Regions from separate parts of the Homo sapiens genome. Here region 1 is linked to region 2. The links are contacts of gene promoters, found by promoter capture Hi-C in human tissues and cell types (Jung and others, 2019). All regions are on one chromosome and are shown on one strand. Each heading gives the region's core, a stretch centred on a gene start or on the middle of the fragment in contact. The rest is flanking DNA. Distances are from core to core; before and after follow the strand shown. Region 1 overlaps TYK2 (tyrosine kinase 2). Region 2 holds the start of MRPL4 (mitochondrial ribosomal protein L4).

Region 1 (6,575 bases), core at 1,909-4,408, 110 kb after region 2:
CTCCAGTGAATGAGGTACAGGCCGTCCTCGGGCCGCAGCTTGGCCTGCACAAATGGCTCCCTGGAAGGTGGTCCAGGGGGACTATCAGGCCACCTGGGGCCACTCTGGACCCATACCCGGGAACAATGACACTCATTACCTACTTAGAGGGCACACACACAGCTAGGACAAGTGTCAGACACAGCCACTCTTGTGGGGACACTAACTCTGGACACACAGCCACTTACATGGAGACACAATGCAGCAGCAGGCACACACCTGCTTTTTTGTTTATTTGTTTGTATTTTTTAGACGGATTTTCCCTCGTCACCCAGGCTGGAATGCAATGGCGTGATCTCAGCTTATTGCAACCTCTGCCCACCTGGGTTCAAGCAATTCTCTTGCCTCAACACCTCAACCTCCCGAGTAGCTGGGATTACAGGTCCCTGCCACCATGCCCAGCTAATTTTTATATTTTTAGTACAGAGGGGGTTTCACCATGTTAGCCAGCCTGGTCTCAAATTCCTGACCTCAGCTGATCTGCCAGCCTCAGCCTCCCAAAGTGCTGGGATTACAGGCATGAGCCACTGTGCCCGGCTACCTGATCTCTCTTTTTTTTTTTTTTTTTTTTGAGACAGGGTCTTGCTCTGTTGCCCAGGCTGGAGTGCAGCGGTGCAATCTTGGCTCACTTCAGCCTGGACCTCCCAGGCTCAAGAGATTCTCCCACCTCAGCCTCCTGAGGAGCCAGGATTACAGGTGTGCCCAGCTAATTTTTGTGTTTTCTGTAGTTAAAAGACCTTGCTACATTGCCCAGGCTGCTCTTGAACTCCTGGGCTCAAGTGATTCTCCCACCTCGGCCTCCTAAAGCGCTGGGATTACAGGTGTGAGCCACCACACCCAGCCTACTCCTACTCTTGTACTTGACGCCAGACGGGCCCTGACAAGGTGACACACACTCCAAGATTGGAAACAGCCATCAGGAGCCGGATGGGCACACACCCAGCCATGACCATCGCCACTCACAAGGGTGACACACGGTGGATGGCCAATCACACAAGCAAAGGACAACGATCCCAGACACAACTAATCACCCAATATGACAGGGCAACATAGGGGCCAGGGCATCCCAGACACAGAGGTGACACAAACATGCACTATAAAGTGTCATGGTCACATAGGTCCAGACACCTACATGTGCAGTGGCTGACACACGTGGTCCCCAAACACCTGTCTGTACGGGGGCAGCACACATATAGCCTTGACAGCAGGCACGGCCACAGGCCTCACAAGGTGAAATGGCCACTTCCCCCTCCCCTGGCATCACAGGTAGGACAAGGGACAGAGAGTCACAGGGCCAGTGACCAGACAAAGAGACAGTCACAAATCACGACTTGGCAGCACACAGGACAGCCACACACTCCCCTGCACCTGATGATGACATAAGTACCGACAACTTCACGCCCTCAGGCCCACAAGTCACACACAGGACCCCGCTGAGATGGTGACTCACAAGTTACCAGCACAGGCAGCCGCCTGCAGAGGTGGAAGCATCCAACATACGCCTGAATGGTCACCAGCGTCAGGGTAACACACAGTCCCATGAAAATCACCAGTTCTGTGCAATGACAACCTCAACACACAATGACAGTCATGGCCGGGCGTGGTGGCTCATGCCTGTAATACCAGCACTTTGGGAGGCCGAGGCGGGTGGATCACCTGAGGTCAGGAGTTCAAGACTAGGTTGGCCAATCTGATGAAACCCCATCTCTACAAAAATACAAAAATTAGCCTGGCATGGTGGCGAGTGCCTGTAGTCCCAGGTAGTCAGTTGGGAGGCTGAGGCAGGAGAATCGCTTGAACCCGGGAGGCGGAGGCTGCAGTGAGCTGAGATCATGCCACTGCACTCCAGTTTGGGCGACAAAAAATAAAAAAAAAATAAGACGTGCACCTACACACACACCCTGCACAGCCCCTAGGGCTCACAGTCTAGTTGGCACCCTTGGCGGTGGCCCCCAGCGCCCCCCACCCAGCACTCACAGCAGGGGTCCGTGGATCCCATCCCGGATGCTCATCACCAGCCGTGGGGGAGCCACCTCGTGGCACAGGTAGTGGCTGGAGTCGGCCGTCAGGCGGAAATAGCCGTCCACCAGCGACACGAAGGACAGCGCCGCAGCCCGGGAAGGCAAGCTCAGCTCCTGCCAGCCAGGGGCGCATCAGGTGGGTGTCCTCCCAGGCCATGATGGGCCCTAGCCCAGCCCCTACCCTGGGCCTCACCAGGCACTTGTTGTCCTGCCGGTGGATGCTGACACAGTGCTCTTTCAGCACCACGTGGGTGATGTCCCGGAAGTCACAGAAGTAGGCCCACAGTGGCTCCCGCGGCCTGTCTGCCGGCTGGCCGACTGCCTTGTGAGCCTTGGCCTTCTTCCCAAACAGGCTGGCTTGGGGGTTCCTGCCACTGCTGCCACTAGAACCCTGAACACCCAGCAAGTGGGGCAGAGGATGGAGAGGGCAATGCCCGTTTATACCTCCTGCACTTTCCCCTGGGGAGAGACTGGAGCCAGAAGGGCCAGGCACCAACCTAGGTTGACCTCCCAAGTCCCAGTGTCACAGGTGGGATGGGGACCCACCCCAAAATCATACACATGCTGGAAGCCGGACCCTTAGGGAAGGCAGAGAGAAGAATCCTGACCCCCTCACACCCAGGTGCCAGTCCCCAGATGAAGGGGTTCCCTGGAGGTGCAGACCCCAGAAATAAGGTCCCCAGGGGGTAAGCAGATGGAGGACCTTCTCCAAGAAACTGGCCCTAGCGGACAGGTGCCCCAGAGCCATGTGGGGAGAGGGCTCAGGTCAGCCACCCTCAGAGGCTAGGGTCAAGGATGAACACAGAAACCCACCCCAGCCCAACCTGAACCCCCAGGGCGGAAGGGGCGCCTTGCTCACCTCCTCCTTGTTCACCTCCTCCTCTACTGGCCACCACTGGATGCCACCAGTGCCTGTCACCAGCACCTCGTGGGTTGGGGGCCCAGCAGCAGACTCAGGGCCAGGGTCTGTAGGGGCCACCCCACTGTCCCGGATGTAGCAGGGCTCCCCCTCGGCCTGGGCCAGCAGCCTCAGGTGGCACACGGGCACACGCTCTGTGCCGAAGCGGGGTGCCAGCCGCTCGAGTGTGGCTAGGTATTTGACCATGACCATCTGCTGGGAGAGTCGGCCCGGCTGGAAGTCCCGCAGGAACCTGCGGAAGACGTTCCGAAGGCGCAGCCGGGTCAGGGCGCTGTGCTGCCGGATATGCCGGCGGAAGGAGCGCGGGATGCAGTCCTTGAAGCTGGGGGGAAACACAGTGAGGGGCTGGTCAGGGACCTGGGTTGCAGGCCCAGCTGGGTGACACAGGGCAAGTGGCTTAACCTCTTTGAGCCTCAGCTGCCTCATCTGGAAAACAGGCACACTAGCCAGGTGTGGTGACTTGAGCCTGTAGTCTCAGCTACTTGGGAAGCCAAGGCGGAAGGATCGCTTGAGGTCAGGAGTTCGAGACCAGCCTGGCCAACATGATGAAACTCAGTCTGTCTCTACTAAAAATACAAAAATTAGCTGGGCTTGATGGTGGGCACCTGTAATCCCAGCTACTCAGGAGGCTGAGGAAGGAGAATCTCTTGAACCTGGGACGCAGAGGTTGCAGTGAGCCAAGATTGCGCCACTGTACTCCAGCCTAGGTGACAGAGAGAGACTCCGGCTCAGAAAAAAAAAAAAGTAGAGGCACGGCAATATGCAAAGTCTACCCTGGCTCCCAGATGCTCAGGACATTTCCCCCTGCCTACACAGCGTCCCCACCCCATTCCCAGACACCTGGTCTTCTTGGCCACCTCCTCCAGGGGGATGCCATGGCGGAGAGCGAGGTGACAGAGGTGCAGAAAGGCCATGCCCAGGCTCTCATTCTTAAAGTGGTGGATCTCCTCCTCGGTCGACAGCTCCCACAGTGATGCCACGTCATTCACAAACTCATGCTTGCCCTGGGAACAGGAAATTGAGCAGAAAGGGAGGTGTGAGAATGCGTTCCTCTCTAGCCCAGAGGTATCCAATCTTCTGGCTACCCTGGACCACACTGGAAGAAGTGTCTTGGGCCCTACATAAAATACACTAACACTAATGATAGCTGATGAGCTAAAAAAAAAAAAAAAAAAAGAATATCGCAAGCCGGGCATGGTGGCTCACGCCTATAATCCCAGCACTTTGGGAGGCCAAGGCGGGCGGGTCACCTGAGGTCAGGAGTTTGAGACCAGCCTGACCAACATGGAGAAAACTCGCCTATACTAAAAATACAAAATTAGCCAGGTGTGGTGGCGCATGTCTGTAATCCCAGCTACTCCGGAGGCTGAGGCAGGAGAATCACTTGAACCTGGGAGGCAGAGGTTGCAGTGAGCTGAGATCATGACATTGCACTCCAGCCTGAGCAACAAGAATGAAACTCTGTCTCAAAAAAAAAAAAAAATCACAGCAAAATCTCAGAATATTTTAAGATAGTTTATGAATTTGTGTTGGGCTTCATTCAAAGCTGTCCTGGGCAGCATGCAGTCCGCAGGCCAGGGGTTGGACAAGCTTACTCTAGCCAGAGAACTCTAATTTCCTGCGTCTTACCACCTTGAGGAGGGGAGAGACCACCATTTACTGGAAAGGCCAAATACACAGCATACACCCCTCCTCTTGTCAATCTTGTGCCTGTGGCAGACATTACTAATCAATCACAGCACTCTATCCCCTTCAACCTGAACTCTTGGCTGGGCATGGTGGCTCACACCTATAATCCCACAATTTAGGAGGCTGAGGCAGGTGAATCACTTGAGGTCAGGAGTTTGAGACCAGCCTGGCCAACATGGTGAAACCCCGTCTTTACTAAAAATAGAAAAATTAGCCTGGGGTGGTGGCGGGCTTCTGTAATCTCAGTTACTTGGGAGGCTGAGGTGGAAGAATCGCTTCAACCTGGGAGGTGGAAGTTGCAGTGAGCTGAGATCACGCCACTGCACTCCAGCCTGGGCCACAGAGCAAGACTCCATTTCAAAAAAAAAAGATCGGCTGGGAGCGGTGGCTCACGCCTGTAATCCCAGCACTTTGGGAGGCCGAGGCGGGCAGATCACGAGGTCAGGAGATGGAGACCATCCTAGCTAACACTGTGAAACCCCGTCTCCACTAAAAATACAAAAAATTAGCTGGGCATGGTGGCGGGCGCCTGTAGTCCCAGCTACTTGGGAGGCTGAGGCAGGAAAATGACGGGAACCTGGGAGGCGGAGCTTGCAGTGAGCCGAGATCACATCACTGCACTTCAGCCTGGGCGACAGAGCAAGACTCCGTCTCAAAAAAAAAAAAAAGATCCCCAGATAGCATGAGTTGAAACCTATTAGCTATATTGAATCAGGGAGGGAAATGGGGGCTCCTCAACTGCCCCTAAGTCTCCCACAAATAGTCTTGCCACCCCAGCCCTGCTCATACCTGCTCAAAGAGGTACTCAAATGAGGCTGGGTCCAGGAGTTGCATCCCCTGTGCTGTCTGATCTGAGGATGCCTCGGTTCCTGGGGGCCCACAACGGTACACAGCCGGTTCCCGAGGATTCATGCCATGCCAGTTCCGGAAATAAAACCTGCAGGAAGGAGGGACGCAGCTGGGGCTTAGCACAGAGTCAGACCAGCTTCAGCACAGGAGGGGACGAGCTTTGCAAAGGTCTCCACCCACCTTATGCGGAAATATAGCATCAGGCTTGCATCTCTGGGGATCTCTAGGATGTGGTTTGGGGGCAACCAGACTTGGGCCTGAGCATCGAAGAGGGCAAAGAGATTGAAGCAAGGAGGAGTGATACCTGGATCAGGTGAGAAACGAGGTCAGGAGTCACGTCATTTGCTACCGTCAGCCCCAAAGACCCCCCAGACCCAATGTCTGCCTTCACACTCCCTCTGAGGCCCCCTCCCCCACCTGCAGCTTCAGTCTCACGTTGCCCCTGGGCAGAGGACAGTGCGTATGTTGCCCATGCTGTGGCCTCACAGGAGGACTACATTTCCCAGCCTCCCTTGCAGCTAGGATGGAGCCAATTGCACTGCTGGTTTCTGGCCAAAGGGCTGGGTACATTTCCAAGCCTGGAAATAAATTCTCTTGCCACCTTCACCACCCGAGGTATGATGAAGGCTTCTTGTGACAGATGGTGAAGCTGTAAGACAGAGGTGAACCATCCAACCTGTACTTGATTTTAAGTAAAACTTTTTTTTTTTTTTTGAGATGGAGTCTTGCTGTTGCCCAGGCTGGAGAGCAGTGACACGATCTTGGCTCGCTGCAACTTCCGCCTCCTGGGTTCAAGTGATTCTCCTGTCTCAGCCTCCTGAGTTGCTGGGATTACAGGTGTGCGCCACCAACCCCGGCTAGTTTTTGTATTTTTAGAAGAGACGAGGTTTCGCCATGTTGGCCAGGCTGGTCTCAAACTCCTGACCTCAGGTGATCTGCCCACCTTGGCCCCCCAAAGTGCTGAGATTACAGGCATGAGCCACTGTGCTCGGCCGATTTTAGGTAAACCTTGATTAAGATTTGGGGGGATTGCTTATTCCTGCAGCAAAACTAATCCT
Region 2 (5,768 bases), core at 1,511-4,010:
GTATTTTTAGTAGAGATAAGGTTTCACCATGTTGGCCAGGCTGGTCTCGAACTCCTGACTCGTGATTCGCCCACCTTGGCCTCCCAAAGTGCTGGGATTACAGGCGTGAGCCACCGCACCCGGCCACATTTTTTTTTTTTTTTTTTTGAGACAGGATCTTAGTCTGTCACCCAGGCTGGAGTACAGTGGCATGAACATGGCTCACTGCAGCCTCAATCTCTTGGGTTCAGGTGATCCTTCTGCCTTAGCCTCCCCATTAGCTGGGACCACAGGCATATACCATCACACCTAGCTAATTTTTAAATTTTTGGTAGAGGCCAGGCGCGGTGGCTCACGCCTGTAATCCCAGCACTTTGGGAGGCCGAGTCGGGTGGATCACCTGAGGTCGGGAGTTCGAGACCAGCCTGGCCAAAATGGTGAAACCCTGTCTCTACTAAAAATAAAAAATAAAAATAAAAATTAGCTGGGCGTAGTGGCGGGCGCCTGTAATCCCAGCTACTCGGGAGGCTGAGGCAGGAGAATCGCTTGAACCCAGGAGGCAGAGGTTGCAGTGAGCCAAGATCGCGCTACTGCACTCCAGCCTGGGCAACAGAGTGAGATTCTGTCTCAAAAAAAAAATAATAATAATGCTATTTATTGACTTTACACCTTGTACCAGGCATGGGAAGCTTTGCCTCCATTACGTCACTGAATCTCATAACCTCCTTTTCCAGCAGAGGAAAATGAGGTTGGTTCACAGACCACGTTGTCAGCTGTGCTCTGTCCAGAACGCACTGGCCTCCAAGTAGACAGCCCTGGACTGGTAGGGAAGCCGGCTATGATCCGGTGGCGCCCCCTGGAGGTCTATCGGGAACATGGTAAAGAACCTAAAAATGGGTGGGCCACAGTAGCTCATGCCTGTAATCCCAGCACTTTGGGGGACCAATGCGGGAGAATTGCTTGAGCCCAGGAGTTCAAGACCAGCCTGGGCAACATTGGGAGACCCACCCCCCGCCATCTCTACAAAAAAAAAATTAGGCCGGGCGCGGTGGCTCAGGCCTGTAATCCCAGCACTTTGGGAGGCCGAGGCGGGTGGATCACCTGAGGTCAGGAGTTCAAGACCAGCCTGGCCAACGTGGTGCCACACTGTCTCTAATAAAAACACGAAAATTAGGGCCGGGCTCGGTGGCTCACGCCTGTAATCCCAGCACTTTGGGAAGCCGAGGCGGGCGGATCACGAGGTCAGGAGATTGAGACCATCCTGGCTAACACGGTGAAACCCCCTCTCTACTAAAAATACAAAAAGTTAGCCAGGTGTGGTGGCGGGCGCCTGTAGTCCCAGCTACTCGGTAAGCTGAGGCAGGGAATCGCTTGAACCCGGGAGGCCGAGATGTGCGATCTCACACCACTGCACTCCGGCCTGGGCGACAGAGCGATACTCCATCTCAAAATACAAATACAAAATAAAAAAATACAATACAAAAATGAGCCGGGCTTGCGTACCTGTAGACCAGCTACTCAGGAGACAGAGGCAGGAGAATCCCTTGAGCTCTGGAGGTCGAGGCTGCAGTAAGCCATGATCTTGCCCATTGCACTCCAGCCTGGGCGACAGAGGAAGACCTTGTCTCTAAAAACCAAAACAAAGAAACTAAAAATAAGCATTCGGATTTGTTAGGGGGCGACAAGGGAGGCACTCCAGGATCTGTGGACTCCCCACTTTGTTCTGTCCTTGGAGAGCCCTGGAAGGTCTGAGAGGGGACGGGACCTGGTTTAAGGGGGTAGGGGAGAGGACCCTGGTCTAGGGGGTAAGGGACACAAATACCTAATCTGAGGGGTTTCGGGGGGACATGGCCCTGCCCTGGGGAATCTAAACTGGGAGGCATGGTCTGGCAGGCCCAATCCTGAAGGCTTTCTGAGGGCAATAAGGCCCTGCCTTTAAACAAATGAAAAAACGCCAGGCACGGTGGCTCACGCCTGTAATCCCAGCACTTTGGAAGGCTGAGGCGGGAGGATCACGAGGTCAGGAGATCGAGACCATCCTGGCTAACGCGGTGATACCCGTCTCTACTAAAAATACAAAAAATTAGCCAGGCGTGGTGGCGGGCGCCTGCAGTCCCAGCTACTCGGGAGGCTGAGGCAGGAGAATGGCGTGAACCCAGGAGGCGGAGCTTGCAGTGAGCCGAGATCGCGCCACTGCACTCCAGCCTGGGCAACAGAGCAAGACTCCGTCTCAAAAAAAACAAAAACAAAAACAAAAACAAAAACAAAAAAACAAATAAAAAAACAAAACCACATAACTGGATAAAGAAAAAACCATCTCCGACAGCCTTGGAGGCGGGATGAAGGCGTGGCCCGGTGGGCGTGACCAACAGCAAAAGTTTAAGCGTTATTGGCTGTATTCCTTAGTTGCTCACTCCAGAACTGCCCACTTATGGGCGGGGGTCACTCCTTCAGGCTTAACAGTCATTGGCTGAATTGGGCCAGAGAGGTCTCATTGGCTGAATTCCTGCACCGGCTCGTCGGAGGCGGGACCCAAAGTAGGCTAGGCCTACGGAAGCTGGGTCTTCTTGCTGTGAGGTCGCGTTCCCCAGTGTTACGGAGGGTCCTTGAGGCAGGAGTGAAAATTGGGTCTGGGGGTTAGTCCTGGGGTGGAGGTCTGGGCACGCCGGGTCGGACCCCCTCCATCTTCGGTTTTGCACACCCCGCTTTCCAGCGCGGAGTCGCGGCGGGTAGGGCGGCGTCGCGTGCGTGACGTCATCCAGCGGCGCCTCGCGAGGCTCCAGTGGCCTTGACCTCCCGCGGCGTGGGAGGCTGCGCGGCGATGCTGCAGTTCGTCCGGGCCGGGGCGCGGGCCTGGCTTCGGCCTACCGGCAGCCAGGTGAGGCCAGGGGCTGGAGGCGTGGTCGAAGGATGAAATTTGGGGGTGTCCAGGGGTCGTCTCTCACTTTCGCCCAACCCTTGCAGGGCCTGAGTTCCCTGGCGGAAGAGGCAGCGCGTGCGACCGAGAACCCGGAGCAGGTGGCGAGCGAGGGTAAGGCAACCGGGGTGGCTCCAGGAGGGGCGGCGACAGAGAGGTCTGACCCTTGACCCTAACCTCTGACCCCCGCAATCGCTCCAGGTCTCCCGGAGCCCGTGCTGCGCAAAGTCGAGCTCCCGGTACCCACTCATCGACGCCCAGTGCAGGCCTGGGTCGAGTCCTTGCGGGGCTTCGAGCAGGAGCGCGTGGGCCTGGCCGACCTGCACCCCGATGTTTTCGCCACCGCGCCCAGGTGAGCGAGGGCTGTAATGGTGAACTGAGTGGCAGAGGGATGAAGAGCGGGATTTCAGGAGTCACGATGACTTTGGGCTTGTACCCTTGGGAAAGTGCTGTATTTCTACAGCCTCCGTTTCTCCACCTGTCAAAGGGGAATGATGACAGTTTCCCCTGCTGTAGCGCTGTGTGAGATTGAAGCCTGAGAGGTGACATCATCTAAGGGTTAGGGAGACAGAATTCTGGAGCCCGACTGATTAGGTTCAAATCCTGCCTTCCCCTCTTGTCCCTCAGTGTCCCTATTTTGTCAGCGGTCGGGAGGTTGCTGTGATGAATAAATGACTTAATTCTGGCACATAATAAGTTCTATAGAAATGTTGATAATCTTTGTTAACTGGTTTTTGCAAATAAGAGCACTAAAAAGACTAAACCATTCCTCGGTGCCTGGAAGAGGCTGTTTGCATTTTAGTTACCCTGCTGTTCATAACATCTCTAAGAAAATGTAGGGGCCACCCTGGGCGCAGTGGCTCACGCCTGTAATCCCAGCACTTTGGGAGGCCAAGGCGGGCGGATCACGAGGTCAGGAGATCGAGACCATCCTGGCTAACATGGTGAAACCCCGTCTCTACTAAAAATACAAAAAAAAATTAGCCGGGCGTGGTGGCGGGCGTCTGTAGTCCCAGGTACTCTGGAGGCTGAGGCAAGAGAATGGCGTGAACCCGGGAGGCGGAGCTTGCAGTGAGCCGAGATCGCGCCACTGCACTCCATCCTGGGCAACACTCTGTCTCAAAAAAAAAAAAAAAAAAGAAAGAAAAGAAAATGTAGGGGCCAGTTACTGTGGCTCACATCTGTAATCCCAGCACATTGGGAGGCCGAGGTGGGCGGATCACTTGAAACCAGGAGTTGCAGACCAGCCTGGCCAACATGATGAAACCCCGTCTCTACCAAAAATACAAAAATTAGCCGGACGTCTTAGTGCAAGCCTGTAGTCCCAGCTACTCAGGAGGCTGAGGCATGAGAATCGCTTGCACCTGGGGAGATGGAGGTTGCAGTGAGCCGTGATTATACTACTGCACTCCAGCCTGGGCGACAGAGACAGACTCCATCTCAAAAAAAAAAACAGGTGAAATTGATTTCAATAATGTATTTAACCTGTATTTAAAACTATGTCGAAATCACATTGTAGCATGGGGCACTGGCCATGTTTCAGATGTTGAGTATGTGACTGTATGGAATGGTATAGAACTAGAGAGGAAAACCAGTCCCTGAAGAAGGTGGCAATAAGTGAAGTGTAATAGCAGGAAAAAAGTAATGGTAGGAAAAACAAGGAAGAAGGGGTGGCTTTTTTTTTCTGAGATGAAGTTTCGCTCTTGTCGCCCAGGCTGGAGTGCAATGGCATGCTCTCAGCTCACTTCAACCTCCGCCTCCTGGGTTCTACTAATTCTCATGCCTCAGCCTCCCGAGTAGCCAGAATGACAGACATGTACCACCGTGCCCAGCTAATCTTTGTATATTTTGGAGAGACATCACTTTGCCATGTTGCCCAGGCTGGTCTTACTCCTTGCCTCAAGTGATCCACCTGCCTTGGCCTCCCAAAGTGCCAGGATTCCAGGCATGAGCCACTGCACCTGGTCAGGGTGGCTCTTTCTTTAGAAGGTACCTTTCAGCAGTTATTGGAGCTGCTACCTGTAGGCTGAGAAAGAACCATCCAGGAGAAGAGTGTTTCAGGCAGAGGGAACAGCAAGTGCCAAGGCCCTGAGGCAGAATTTCAAGATGGGGTCAGTGAGGGGCAGAGGCAAATCGCCCAGGGCCCTGGAGGCAGAAGGGAGAATCCTGGGTTTTCCTATAGTGGGGTGGGAGCGTTTGAAGCAGAGTTGGGCTTCTCATGTGTCCTTCCTCCCCGCAGGCTGGACATACTGCACCAGGTTGCTATGTGGCAGAAGAACTTCAAGAGAATTGTGAGTGCCTAAATGGAGCAAGGTGGTGGGAAGGAGCTTCCTGGGGAGGTTGGGGATAGGACCCAGAGGAAGCCCATCGCTGGGTTTTCTCTGGACTGCTCGGCTGGGGCCTCATCTGTCTCCTGAACTATTCACCGATGGGTCCATTTTTGGTTCTCTTTTTTTTGTTTGTTTTTGAGATGGAGATGGAGTCTCACTCTGTCACCCAGGCTGGAGTGCAGTGGCGCAATCTTGGTTCACTGCAACCTCCGCTTCCTGGGTTCAAGCGATTCTCCTGCCTCTGCCTCCTGAGTAGCTGGGATTACAGGTGTGCACCACCATGCAGGCTAATTTTTGTATTTTTAGTAGAGATGGAGTTTCACCATGTTGGTCAGGCTGGTCTCAAACTCCTGACCTCAAGGAACCTACCTGCCTTGGCCTCCCAAAGTGCTGGGATTACAGGCGTGAGCCACCGTGCCCAGCTCATTTTCAGTTGTTTTCTGATCACTCACTGATGTGGGCATTGTGGTGGGTGAGAGGATATAGCAGGGACCACGAGGACAAAACAGGCAAGGTCCGGCTGTGTGCAAGTGGCTCAGGCC

The links. The method cuts DNA at HindIII sites, captures the fragments that hold promoters and counts their contacts. A contact is called where the count stands out against the background at its distance.
Region 1: a fragment that was not itself captured here is called in contact with the fragment with the promoter of MRPL4 in region 2 in 2 of the 25 tissues and cell types used here (lymphoblastoid cells and spleen).

The regions. Positions count from the first base shown.
Region 1 is chr19:10,362,598-10,369,172 of GRCh38, forward strand. It overlaps TYK2 (tyrosine kinase 2), which reads right to left. Exons shown (of 25, transcript NM_003331.5): 4 at 5,698-5,821; 5 at 5,458-5,605; 6 at 3,820-3,983; 7 at 2,920-3,301; 8 at 2,254-2,451; 9 at 2,017-2,174; 10 at 1-60. Among named protein-coding and RNA genes, the nearest start is that of TYK2, 15 kb to the right of the region's middle. RefSeq lists an enhancer at 1,461-1,961. The HindIII fragment of the contact is 7,383 bases long and covers 1-6,575 here.
Region 2 is chr19:10,249,454-10,255,221 of GRCh38, forward strand. It overlaps MRPL4 (mitochondrial ribosomal protein L4), which reads left to right and starts at 2,761. Exons shown (of 9, transcript NM_015956.3): 1 at 2,761-2,857; 2 at 2,944-3,010; 3 at 3,098-3,248; 4 at 5,136-5,187. The coding sequence starts at 2,801. RefSeq lists a silencer at 697-746 and enhancers at 2,116-2,689, 2,144-2,293, 2,424-2,833, 2,690-3,263. The HindIII fragment of the contact is 13,002 bases long and covers 1-5,768 here.